Linked DNA regions of Homo sapiens: regions 1, 2 and 3 are each linked to region 4. The links are contacts of gene promoters, found by promoter capture Hi-C in blood cells and fetal thymus (Javierre and others, 2016). All regions are on one chromosome and are shown on one strand. Each heading gives the region's core, a stretch centred on a gene start or on the middle of the fragment in contact. The rest is flanking DNA. Distances are from core to core; before and after follow the strand shown.

Evidence for each region. The method cuts DNA at HindIII sites, captures the fragments that hold promoters and counts their contacts. A CHiCAGO score of 5 or more calls a contact.
Region 1: a contact is called between a fragment that was not itself captured here and the fragment with the promoter of MYL12A in region 4, in 1 of 17 cell types (neutrophils). The highest score is 5.1, in neutrophils.
Region 2: a fragment that was not itself captured here is called in contact with the fragment with the promoter of MYL12A in region 4 in 14 of 17 cell types (naive B cells, total B cells, total CD8 T cells and 11 more); the score reaches 10.2 in naive B cells.
Region 3: a fragment that was not itself captured here is called in contact with the fragment with the promoter of MYL12A in region 4 in 1 of 17 cell types (endothelial precursors); the score reaches 6.5 in endothelial precursors.

What each region holds. Positions count from the first base shown.
Region 1 is chr18:2,752,247-2,755,769 of GRCh38, reverse strand. SMCHD1 (structural maintenance of chromosomes flexible hinge domain containing 1) reads right to left here. Exons shown (of 48, transcript NM_015295.3): 34 at 3,218-3,282. Among named protein-coding and RNA genes, the nearest start is that of EMILIN2, 93 kb to the left of the region's middle. The HindIII fragment of the contact is 1,697 bases long and covers 1,334-3,030 here.
Region 2 is chr18:3,666,114-3,669,189 of GRCh38, reverse strand. The region is part of intron 7 of DLGAP1 (DLG associated protein 1); the gene reads left to right. Among named protein-coding and RNA genes, the nearest start is that of DLGAP1-AS6, 15 kb to the right of the region's middle. The HindIII fragment of the contact is 2,330 bases long and covers 557-2,886 here.
Region 3 is chr18:3,627,905-3,631,132 of GRCh38, reverse strand. The region is part of intron 7 of DLGAP1 (DLG associated protein 1); the gene reads left to right. Among named protein-coding and RNA genes, the nearest start is that of DLGAP1-AS6, 24 kb to the left of the region's middle. The HindIII fragment of the contact is 1,222 bases long and covers 1,182-2,403 here.
Region 4 is chr18:3,246,551-3,249,712 of GRCh38, reverse strand. MYL12A (myosin light chain 12A) reads right to left here and starts at 1,912. Exons shown (of 4, transcript NM_006471.4): 1 at 1,804-1,912. It also overlaps a transcript of MYOM1 not described here. RefSeq lists enhancers at 774-843, 1,976-2,205 and a silencer at 1,606-1,685. The HindIII fragment of the contact is 13,247 bases long and covers 1-3,162 here.

The DNA of each region.
Region 1 (3,523 bases), core at 933-3,432, 490 kb after region 4:
CAGTGAAACCCTGTCTCTACTAAAAATACAAAAAATTAGCTGGGCGTGGTGGCAGGTGCCTATAGTCCCAGCTACTCCGGAGGCTGAGGCAGGAGAATGGCATGAACCCGGGAGGCAGAGCTTGCAGTGAGCCAAGATCATGCTACTGCACTCCAGCCTGGGAGACAGAGCAAGACTCCATCTCAAAAAAAAAAAAAAAAAAAAGAAAGAAAGAAAAAGAAAATACACAAAAACTGGAAAATAACAAACCTACTATTATAAATCCTAGACATTTTTCTTAAATCCCAAAGAATCTACAAATAAAATCAGAGCCAGGAGTGGTGGCTCACATCTGTAATCCCAGCACTTTGGGAGGCTGAGGTGGGAGGATTGCTTGAACTCAGGAGTTCAAGACCTGCAATGAGACCTTGAGTCCACAAAAATTAAAAAATCAACCAAGTGTGGTGGTGTGGGCCCATAGTCCCAGCTAGTTGGTAGGCTAAGGCCCAAGAGTTTAAGACAAGCCCAGACAACATAGTAAGACCCTGTCTCCACAAAAAATAAAATCATAAGTCAGGCGTAGTGCTGTGGGTCTGTAGTCCCAGCTGCCTGAGAGGCTGAGGTAGGAAGATTGCTTGAGCCTGGGAGGTCAAGGCTACAGTGAGCCATGATTGCACCACTGCACTACAGCCTGGGTGACATAGTGAGACCCTGTCTCTAAATTAATTAATTAATTATTTAAAATAAGAAATGAAGGAGTTTAACAAAGATAACTGCTACAAGGTCAATATACATAAATCAATTGCATCTCTCTAACCAAAAACAACAGAAAATAAAAATGTTTTAGGAGATATCATTTACGATGGACCTCATGTGATCTGCCTGCCTCTGCCTCCCAAAGTGCTGGGATTATAGGTGTGAGCCACCGCACCTGGCCTCACACTATACATTAAAAAAAAAAAAAATCAATTCCACGTATAACTGTATAAAAAGAACACAGCAAACCTAAAGTGCTATCCTTAGAAGCACTTGTCTGCTTGCAAGATGGGCCCTTCGCAGACATCTGTGAGTTTAGATTTCAGGAGGGTTCTCACCTTTAACTGATATGAGTGGCTCACATTGCCTAAACCACTGCACTAATATGGTTTATGCTACACACTTGCTTTTCTTCTGAAAATCTGGTATTTGCTAGGCAGAGGCTGCCTATGTGACCACACCCTAACAAAAACCCTGAATGCTGAGTCCCCAGTGAGCTTCCCTGGTTGACAACATTTTATACGCATTGTCACAATTTATTGTTGGGGAATTAAGCACATACTCTGTGACTTCACCAAGACAGAATCCTTGGAAAGCTTCCTCTGTGTCTGCTTTCCCTTGGACATCACCCCATGAGCTTTTTACCTTGCTCATTTCACTTTGAATCCTTTTGTTTCAATAAAACATAGCTATGAGCCCAGCTATATATTAAGTCCTGTGAGTCCTCCTGGTGAATCATCAAACCTGGCATTGGTATTGGGAACCCCCAACACAATAATATAGTAAAATGTGTTGATGACCTAAATGTAAGGAAAGACTTAAACAGGACACAAAGAAGATCAACTATAAAAAAGATGATTAACACATTTGCTTATATAAAAATTAACCACTGCTGTTCAAGATATCATAAAATGAGAAAGCAAGCCACAGGATAGGCAAAGATGTCTAAACAAAAGGCTTGTATCTCTAATATATAAAGAACTCCTACAAATTAATATAAAAAATAATACAAAAGTTATTAAGATACTCAAAAAAGGCACTTCACAAAAGGTAATCTAAGTGGCCAATAAATATATGATAAACAGGGAAATGCAAATTAAGAGTAAGTGTGATGCCACTCTATTACATGTCCACCAGAAGATTACACCTGAAAAGACCCACAAAACCGTGTTGGGAAGGGCCGGGCACGGTGGCTCATGCTTGTAATCCCACCATTTTGGGAGGCTGAGGTGGGCAGATGGCTTTGAGCTCAGGAGTTCGAGACTAGCCAGAGCAACTTGGTGAAACCCAGTCTCCACACACACACAAAATAAATAAATAAATAAATTTGCTGGGCATGGCAGCACATTCCTGTAGTCCTAGCTACTTGGGAGGCTGAGGCAGGGGGCTCGCTTGAGCCAGGGAAGCAGAGGTTGCAGTGAGCCACTGCACTCTAGGCATTGCACTCTAGCAAGGCTATGTATTAAAAAGAAATAAACCCTCAAGCTACTCAAGTTAAACACACACATCTATGTTTAACATCTATATTTAACATCTAACATACACATCTATATTTAAATATACACATCTATGAACTTATGACCCAGCAATTTTACTTTTATATGAGCACCAGTGTTATAAAGATTATTTGTAATAGCCCAAAATTGAAAATGCAAATAGCCATTAACAGAATGGAAAATAGTAGTGTGTTCACACAATGGACTTCTATACAGCAATGGAAATGAATGAATTTATAGCTATATGCCACAGAATCTCATGATGCTGAGTGAAAGAAGTCTTATGCAAAGGAAAATAATTGTATATCAAGTTCAAAAATGGGCACAACTAAATCAGAGACTATAGAGATGTATGCTAAGATAAACGGAACTCTAAATAAGACCAAATCAGGAGAGGGTTTGTGGTGTGTGCATGTGTGTGTCTACATGAGTGTGTGCATGGCATGCACAACAGGAAGGAAGACGGTAATAACTGGAAGAGGTAAGGGGTGGAGCTTCCATGATTGGTCCTTTACCAATTAGTCTGAAAAAGCACTGAACAAATATAATGAGCATTTTGACCCTATTGATGATAAAGGATTTGTAAAGAAACTTAACACATAATGTTTTTAGATTTGAAAATGGAGGTCCAGAATGAAGCAGCAACATGCTCAAAGTCACAGAAATGTTAAAAGCCAGTCTAATCTTTATAGAAACCTCCTATATAATAAGAAGTTATAAAGTGCCCTGACAACATAAAAGAATTCTTCTGATGGCTTCGATAGTTTCAAAAGCAAATACAATTACAATTTACAAAGCTTAAAACCAATTTAATGCTTAAAAACGAAAACACACCTTTTCCCAAAAAACTGAGAAAAATTTAGAGACACTAACATTTCTATTTGATCATAAATTACTTTTCCTCAGGTGAGCCCACATATATCTCCAGGGTTGAATTACTTTGTAACAAGATATGTATTCAAAATATGAAATGTTTTGAGAAATACCTGAAATAGAAGCAGCCATCTTCTTTGTCATTATCTTTTATTTTATTACAACTAAATGTTTCTGCCTAGAAAGGGGAGTAGGAGAGAAGGGGAGAGGGGAAAATGACAAAATTTAACATAGTATACTTAGGAGGAAAGCTTATTATATACCTAAACTGAATGTGTATCTGGATTCCATTTATAAACATACAGGTATATATACACACGTTTATATCTTCATAATACATGTAAGGTACAATGTGAGATTAGTGACAGTGGAAAGACACCCCATTATTAAAAGACACACAGTAGAACTTTATGGTGATA
Region 2 (3,076 bases), core at 472-2,971, 420 kb before region 4:
GAAAAACATCTGGAAGGTCTGGAACCCTAATACCAGTCTGCGTTGTCTTTCTTAAAGACTGAAATTGTACAACATTTATTTTCATTTAACAAACACTTATCACTTGTATTTGTCAGCCTTTGTTCAAAGATGCTGTACGAATATTAACATGTCAAATATTATGTAGATCATTCTATTGCTTTTTAATTTATTTATTTATTTATTTTGAGACAGAGTCTTACTCGGTCGCCCAGGCCGGAGTGCAGTGGCGCGATCTCGGCTCATTGCAAGCTCCGCCTCCCAGGTTCAAACGATCTCCTACCTCAACCTCCCAAGTAGCACCTGCCACCTCACCCAGCTAATTTTTGTATTTTTAGTAGAGACGGGGTTTCACCATGTTGCCCAGGATGGCCTCGAACTCCTGGCCTTAGGTGATCTGCCTGCCTCGGCCTCCCAAAGTGCTGGGATTCCATGCGTGAGCCAGTGCACTGGGCCAAGCATTCTATTTCTCATTTATGGTGCGTCTATTTGCCACCACTGCTTCGACTGAGGATAGCTTGGCACAAGATGTGAAGCTTGTTTTGAAGGCCTGAGCAGAGATTTTTTTTTGCACAGTGGAGTCCAGTATTTTGCCAAAGGCACAGAAGAAGGTACGGAAGATGAAAAACTTTTCCCCAGCCTGGGCAACACAGTGAGACCCCCATCTCTACAAAAATTTGCAAATTAAAAAAATTAGCTGGGTGTGGTGGCATGTGCCTGTAGTCCTAGCTACTTGGAGGCTGAGGGGGGAGGATCACTTGAGCTCAGGACTTTGAGGCTGCAGTGAGCTATGATCACACCACTGCACTCCAGCCTGGATGACAGTGTGAGACCCTGTCTCTAGAAAACATGGAAGGAAGGAAAGAAGAAACGAAGGAAGGAAAAACTGTTCCTTTACCCTCTTAAGTTCAGTGTTTTGGGGGCTGCAAAAGAAAAGACAGGCTTCTGTTCATTATGTATGGGAGTTCTCAGGAAAATATGCCTCAAGGGGGCACTTACAATTTGGGGCTTATGTGCCATCTGAACAAGAGAAGGGGAGGAGGAGAAGGGCACTTAAGGAAAAATAAATTACTTTTAAGAAAGATCATGGGCCTTTAGGAGAATAGATGGGAGATGATAGTTTTGTGACAATGCCTGTTTAGGTGTGCTGTGGGCTTCTCTTTGGTATTAGAGTCAACTTTCTCTGGTTGCAGAAAAATCTGTGGGAAGGGATTTATGACAATTGAGTTTTGGGAGGAGGTTCTGCTTTGGGGCAGATAAGGAGTTTAGAAATAAGCCTCTTATCAAATGCCTTCAGCTCAAAATCATTTTTATGCCACAGTGGCATATTCTAGAGGAACCTGGGCCAAGGAAGACCACCCTTGGCCTTACTCCTGGAGTCATTCCGGCTCTGGCCTAGCCTTGGGGGTGGAACTCTGCCCTGGTGTGGACAAGAATGGACCCTCTCAGGCCCCAGCATATTCTCAGAGGTCCAGTCACACCGACCTGGAAGTGTCAGAGATGTACTTAATTCTAGGTTTGCACTGAGGCCAGGTAGAAACCGCAGTACCTGGAGCATTTCTTTGTGTTTTGGGGTTTTAATAGACTTGGCCAGGAACCAAGTCCAAGCCCTTTCAACATCACAGAATGTTTTTTAATCTTCCCTAGTCCACCGGAGTGGAAAACTCACATAGTTCTCATCATTCACAAACACTTAAAGGGTGTTTACTAGGTACTAGATGGTATATGCTACTATTATCAGCCTCATTTTGTAAGTGGAGGAGACAAAGAAAGGTTAAGAGGGTTTTCCAAGTTCACATGGATGGTAAGCAGCACAGTCAATATTTGTTGACTGTGAGGCCGAGGCAGGTGGATCGTTCGAGGTCAGGAGTTTGAGACCAGCCTGGCCAACATGGTAAAACCCCGCCTCTACTAAAAGTACAAAAATAAGCTGGGTGGTGGTGGCGCATGTCTGTAATCTCAGCTACTCAGAAGGCTGAGGCAAGAGAATCGCTTGAGTCTGGGAGGTGGAGGTTGCAGTGAGCTGAGATGCACCACTGCACTCCAGCCTGGGCAACAGAGTGAGACCCTGACTCCCAAAAAAAAAAAAATTGACAAATTAGCAACCGGGCACAGTGGCTCAGGCCTGTAATCCCAGAGCTTTGGGAAGCCAAAGCAGGAGGATCACTTGAGGTCAGGAGTACCAGCCTGGACAACACAGTGAGACCTCATCTCTAAAACAAAACAAAAAAATTTAAAAATAAGAAAATTAGCAGGGTGTAGTGGTGGGCGCCTGTAGTTGCAGCTACTACGGAGGCTGAGGCAGGAGGCTCCCTTGAGCCTAGGAGTTCAAGATTGCAGTGAGCTATGATTGCACCACTGCACTGCAGCTTGAATGACACAGCAAGACCCTATCTCTAAAACAAATTTAAAAATTGTTTAAAAAAAAACTTTTTAAATTGACAGATTAGAATCTGATCAGTTTCTTTCCAGAGCTACTTGAACATCTCAGGAGATTCTGCTAAGGATGGAAAAGGAAGGAGTTTTAATTTCAAAGTTTCATTCCATGTCTTGTCAAACCAAGTCTAGATTTGCCATTTAGAACTGCATTCTCTGATCCTGTGTTTTAAGAGAGGTTTCTCCATGTAGATGAAACCAGGAGCTGCATCCTTCCTCGGATTGGTAGGTGTTCCATGGGCTTTATCTGTGCGGCGTAATGACAGCACACAAACGCCAGGGGGCAATGCAGTTTCACCGAAGAATCCTAGGAAACTCGGGTCTGGCTTTGACTAAGAACATTGGCAGGATCCTGGGGCAAAGGTGGAAATCCTTACTAAAAAGAGTTCCGCCAAGGAAAAAATATGTTTAAAAATCCTTTCTTTGAAAGCTTCCTGCATTGTCATCAAAATTGCCCTTCAGTATTTGTGCACAGCTGGAAGTTTTGTGATATTATTTGCAAAAGATTTACTTTTCGTTTTTTCTCAATGCGGCTGCCTAGTCTTTCCTGGAAGGTTTCCTGGGTCTTTCTGCGTAGGAAGGATTATTCTAACCAGCTCTCGGGTAGCCTGGATCACATTGT
Region 3 (3,228 bases), core at 543-3,042, 380 kb before region 4:
GGCACATGCCTGTAGTCCCAGCTACTTGGGAGGCTGAGACAGGAGAATTGCTTGAACCCAGCAGGCAGAGGATGCAATGAGCCGAAATTGCACCACTGCACCCCAGCCTGGGCGACAGAAGGAGACTCAGTCTCATAAAAAAAATAAAAATAAAAAATAAATAAAAAGATTCAAAACTGCAAATTAGAAAGGTGTCAATTCACTTAAAACTGATCTATAAATTTAATGCAATATCAACCAAAAACCTGAATTTTGTTGTTGTTGTTGTGTTTTAGTTTTTGCAAAGTGCCACATACAGCCAAGATACTCTTGAAAAGCAGCAAAATTAGAGGATTTGCCCTATTGAGCATCAAGATTCATAATTAGCCTATAGTAATAAGACATGGTGTTAGCACAAGGACAGGGCAGTAGCCCAACAGAACAGACTACAGATTACAGAAATAGTCCCGTGCTCATATGGAAGCTTGAGAGGCATCTTTGCAATTCAGTGGGGAAGGGACAATATTCAGTAGATGGTGCTGTCACTGAGGAGTATTTATTTGGAAAAAAAATAAAATAAAATTGGACTATACCTTTGTATTAGCCAGGGTTCTTCAGAGACACAGAGACAACAGGAGAGAGAGAAAGACAAAGATTTATTATAGGGAATTGGGGCACACAGTTATAGAGGCCGAGAATTCCCAAGATCTCGAGTCATCAAGCTGAGGACCCAGGAGACCTGATGTGTACTTCCAGCTTGAATCCAGGAGCCTGAGAACCAGGAGAGCTGATGGATAGTTTCAGTCTGAGGACCTGCAGGCTCACAACCCAAGGAGGACCAATGTTTCAGGCCAAGTCTGAAGGCTGGAAAAAACCGATGCCCCAACTTAACCAGTCGGACAGGAGAAATTCTCTCATATTCAGTCTTTTTATTCTATTCCGGTCTTCAATTGATTGAATGAGGCCCAACCACACTGGGGAGAGCAATCTGCTGTACTCAGTCTACTGATTCCAATGTAATACTCTCACTTGGAAGCACCATCACAGACACACACAGAATAATATTTGGCCAAATGTCTGGGTACCACATGGCCCAGTCAAGTTGACACATAAAATTAACCATTACAACTTTATACTCCAGCCCTCCTAAGCAATTCTAGTTGAATTTAAGACCTAAATGTGAAAGGCCAAACAATAAAGCTTCCCAAAATGATATGGGGGTAGGGGAAGTTTCTGAAATAAAATATGAAGAGCATGAAAATTTTTAAAAAGATTGCTACATTTGCCTATTGTGTTCAAACTTTGCCCTTCACAAGAAAGGGACATCGAAATATCAAAACCTGCAAAAAGTGCTCATCTCATTAGGAATCCAAAATAAGTAAATTAAATCCACAGTGAGATACCAATACACACCTACCAGGTTAGCAAAAAATTATTTCATTATTTTTTATTTATTTTTATTTATTTATTTATTTATTTTTTGAGACAGAGTCTCACTCTGTTGCCCAGGCTGGAGTGCGGTGGCGCGATCTCGGCTCACTGCAAGCTCCGCCTCCCGGGTTCACGCCATTCTCCTGCCTCAGCCTCCCGAGTAGCTGGGACTACAGGCGCCCACCAACACGCCCGGCTAATTTTTTTGTATTTTTAGTAGAGACAGGGTTTCAGCGTGTTAGCCAGGATGGTCTCGATCTCCTGACCTCGTGATCCGCCCGCCTCAGCCTCCCAAAGTGCTGGGATTACAGGGTTGAGCCACCGCGCCCAGCCTATTTTTTATTTTTATTTATTTGTTTGTAGACAGAGCCTCACTTTGTCACTCAAGCTGGAGTGCAGTGCCACAATCATGGCTCATTGCAGCCTCAACCTCCCAGGTTCAAGTGATCCTCCCACCTCAGCTATTTATTTTTTTAGAGATGGCGTCTTGCTGTGTTACCCAGGCTAGTCTCAAACTCCTGTCTTGGCCTCCCAAAGTGCTGGGATTGTAGGTGTGAGCCACTGTGCCTGGCCACAAAAAATTATAAAGTGTAACAATATCAAATGTTGGCAAAGATATGCAGCAGCAATAGGAATTCTCATGCACTGTTATGGGAGTGTATGTTGGGACAATATCCACATTTTTAAAAATATTATTTGACATTATGAAGAAACTCATAGCAAACAACCCGAACATTTTCTAGAAAAGTCTTTTACTTGTGTGCCAAATACAGGACAGGAATATTCATGGTGGCATTGTTCAAATACCAAAAAAACCCTAAATATCCATCTATAGTAAAATGTATTTTTATTGTTTATTTCCATGCAATGAAATGGTATTTTCATATAGCAATGGAAATTGACAAGTTGTATGTAATTACAATATAGGTGAATCAACCCACAACATTAAGTAAAAGAAGCAAAATACAAAAGAATACATATATGTAGTAAGCTTCTTTTAATTTAAAGTTCAAAACCAGGCATAATCAAGCTATATTGTTTAGGAATGCATGCAGAAATACTAAAGGCAAGAAAATAATGACAAATATCAGCAGACTAGTTACTTCTGGGATAGGAGGGGTTTGTAACAGGGAAAAGATGCACGGGGAATGTGAACTGCAGGCTCGGAGGCATTCTATAGCTTGGCCTACGTGGTGGTTTCGGAATCTTCATTTTGTAATTATTCTTTAAGAATAGGCTGGGCACACTGGCTCATGCCTGTAATCCCAGCACTCTGGGAGGCTGAGGTGGGTGGATCACTTGAGGTCAGGAGTACAAGACCCCTGGCGGACATGGTCAAACCTCGTCTCTACTGAAAATACAAAAATCGTCTGAGTGTGATGGCACATGGCTATAATCCCACCTACTTGGGAGGCTGAAATAGGAGAATCGCTCGAACCCGGGAGGCAGAGGTTACAGCGAGCCAAGATCACACCACTGCACTCCAGCCTAGGTGACAGAGCGAGACTCCGTCTCAAAAAAAAAAAAAAAAAAAGAATATAGCACAAGGCCAGGCGCAGTGGCTCACGCCTGTAATCCCACCACTTTGGGAGGCCAAGGCGGGTGGACCACTTGAGGTCAGGAGATCGAGACCAGCCTGGCCAACATAGTGAAAGCCCATCTCTACTAAAAATACAAAAATTAGCCAGGTGTGGTGCGCGCCTGTAATCCCAGCTACTCGGGAGGCTGTGGCAGGAGAATCACTGGAACCGGGGAGGTGGGAGGTTGCAGTGAGCCGAGATCGCCCCATTGCACTCCGGCCTGGACAACAGAGCGAGA
Region 4 (3,162 bases), core at 663-3,162:
TGGTCTTGAACTCCTGACTTCGTGATCCACCTGCCTCGGCCTCCCAAAGTGCTGGAATTACAGGCGTGAGCCACCGCACCCAGCTCGAGTCTTTATTTTTGAGGGATTAAGTGAAAGATCCTTGGTGTCAAGGAGTGTCTGTTGTACGAAACTGGAAAGTAGAGAGACTTACAGAACAGGCTTCTACAAAATATGAGGATTTCAGATGCATGAGAAAGTGGATGAAGGGCAGTTAGGAGACTGAGTTTACAGATCTAAAGGAGCATAACCTTTTTTTTAAGTCAGGCGAGGTGAGCGCTGGTGGCAATGAATCTGGTTTTTATTTTGTGTTTTAGCTCAGAATCATTGTGGGCTGTAACGAGAGATACACAACATGATTAAGGAAAATGTTAGACTAGATTAATAGGTGGGAGAAATAGAAGAGATTCTCAAAGTGGCTTTCCCCACACACCAAAGGACACAAGAAGTTTTCAGAATCTCTAGAAACTATGTTCATTTATAAAATGGGATTAATCCATACCAATATATACATTAGAGTTCTGTGGTTAGAATCCTAGAGTCCAGCATTTATTTACAAAGTGGCAATAAATGTAAAATAACCTAGAAACTTCTTCTACAAAACGAACACTCAAATTGATAATATTCTGAGAAATATCACACATTCTGCAAGAAAAAACCACCATCTTACAAAACACTGCGTACTGTGATAGCACCTAGTATTTGGTGGGCTTTCTAAACCCTGACCAAATATACCGCCTCATTTAATCAATGCACTTAAAAAAAAAAAGCCTAAGTATAACTTATTTTCTGGTGCTAACCACAATTTTTAAAAAGTGTATTTCAAGTTGGTGCTTCCGTTCCAAGTAAACCAAGTTTCATTTCTTATGCAAACTTCCGGTTGAAGGTAGGATTCGTTCTCTTGGACTGCCACACCCAAAAGTTCTCACCACTGGACAAAGACAATTAGCTGTGAGGGCTGACTTGCCAGTAAAGCCTCGCTTTTGAAAATAGAGTGCTTTTCTGATTACCGTTTATTAGAGCCCTTCCAGAACATGAAACAAATACCAATAATTTTAAGAAATATTCGCTTTATTCGCCTTTAAATATGAAACTTTTTGCACTTAAGTTAAAATCTCTGCTAAATCCATAGGTCTCTCAAGAACTGACAGATACATTCATATACCTACTAAACTACTTTAAAAAGAAGACACTTCCATGGCGAATTGAATTAGCCCAAACTTTCCCCCCAAATGGGACAAGGTATTACATTTTGGAGTTTTTCTTCGAGTCACAAACTAAACTCCAGATCTCTCTGTCCAAAATTTCATCGCTTAAAGAAAAAAAGTTCTAATTACAGGAGCGGATACTGAGCTGAAGAACTTCCCAATTTGAGTTGGTTATTCCTACTAAACGCAGCCACACAGCTGCAACAACAGCTGCAGCAGGGGGACAACGGGCTACGTTTTTGCGCAAACCCTCTTGAATCGGGCAAGTTGACGTTAGAAACTAAAATAGTCCCGGAGTCAGCTCTGCAGGGGTCGGGTTTCGCGGGCCCGGCAGTCGCCCAAGCTCAAGGCGCCAGTGAGCGAAGCCACATTTCCAGAGTTCCAAGTTTGGGCACAGGAGCGAAGTTCGGGTCTGGGCCACTCCAAGCCATGGCCTCGGATCCCAGAACCGGGGACCTGGCTGGCACACCTGCCCAGGTGCGCTACCGGCGCCAGGAGCCCCGCCGCCCTCCAGCTGCCCCCGCGGAGACGGGTCCCCGGGATGGGTCTCACGCGCCCGAACGCGAGCGCCACTCACCCGGCACAGCTACGAGAATCCGAGCACCTCTCCGAGCCCCTCGCTGCCGCTATCACACCACCCTGCTACCCAGAGAGCCGCTAAAAACCACCGCTTCCGGCCTCTGCTTAGCAAGCCGGAAGGAAGCCCGGTCACCTTTCTTGGCCCGCAGAGTGGGTCTGACTTCACGGAGGGGCGACAGAGAGGGAAGTCGCCAGTGTGGTCAGCGGGCGTGGTATTGACCAAGTGCATGAGAAGGAAGTGTAAAGTGGGCGACCTAGAATATAGAGCAATATATAATGGTCCTCTGGGTCCTGTTACTGAGTTTCCTTCTTTTTTGTACCTGTTGTTGCAGTGTTAAGTCTTCCTCCCCCCTATCCTTTCCGCAGATGGTTGCGTCCGTCCTGTGGCTTTGCCTGGCCGCACATTCCAGGGCACGGCGAAGGGCGGGGCCCGTCGGCCCAAGTCCTTGTAGGGAAATCGAGGAGAGGGCTGCGGGCCCACGTGACTGACCCTCGCCCCGCCCCGAAGCCGGGCTCCAGCTTGTGGGCGGTAGTGCGCCTGCGCTTGACGCCCCGCGCGGGGTCTGGGTCTCCGCCTGAGGGCCCCGGAGCAGTGCGCGTATCCCGGGAGCGGATCTTGATGCTAGCTCTGTGTGCAGTGTAATTTTATTAAGAGTCCCGCCCCCTCCATACGGGAGGAAACGTGTGTCCCTGGGGCCCTCAGCCAAGCCTCCACTATCTTTTTGGCCCAGACGGATTTCCCAGGTCACAAGTGGCTGGAGACTTCCTCTTGAAAAACATTTGCCGTCGTTTTTCCCTGGCAGAGCCCCTTTGACCCTGGCTAACAAGGACAGCCTGACTTGGATCCCACTATGCAGGAAGGAAGGCGACTCTTCCCCGCACCTCTTGCTACGATTAGGACTTGCGACTTGGTGAAAACAGGAATCAAAACTTGGGCCTATTTCTCCTGAGGTCTGCTTGCCTAGAACAATTCGTAACGATGAATCTTATTAAAAAGAGAAAGTCCTCCCCGACTTTATCTTTTTCCGCCCAGAATCCGATAAGGAAGACTTGTTCTGGCCCCCTCAGCTCTCTGACCTCACCTACCAGAGGAGAGAGTGGGATCCTCTAACACTCGAGCCGTCATCCCAGCACTAGGGGACAGTGACCAGTGTGGCTCCCGTGGCCAGAACCCTTCTGAAGTTTGGGTTGCCCTGTGGTCTTCGCCTTCAAAGCAGGCCGCCACTTGAATCCTTCTGGAACGGACAGTGTTGCTGTAAACGCCGCGGAATAGTATCTTCTAAGTATTCGTAGCTTCTTTCTTGAGGGATCTCGGGAACGTTCCGTGTATTAACCACTAACGTATTCCAAAGTTAAC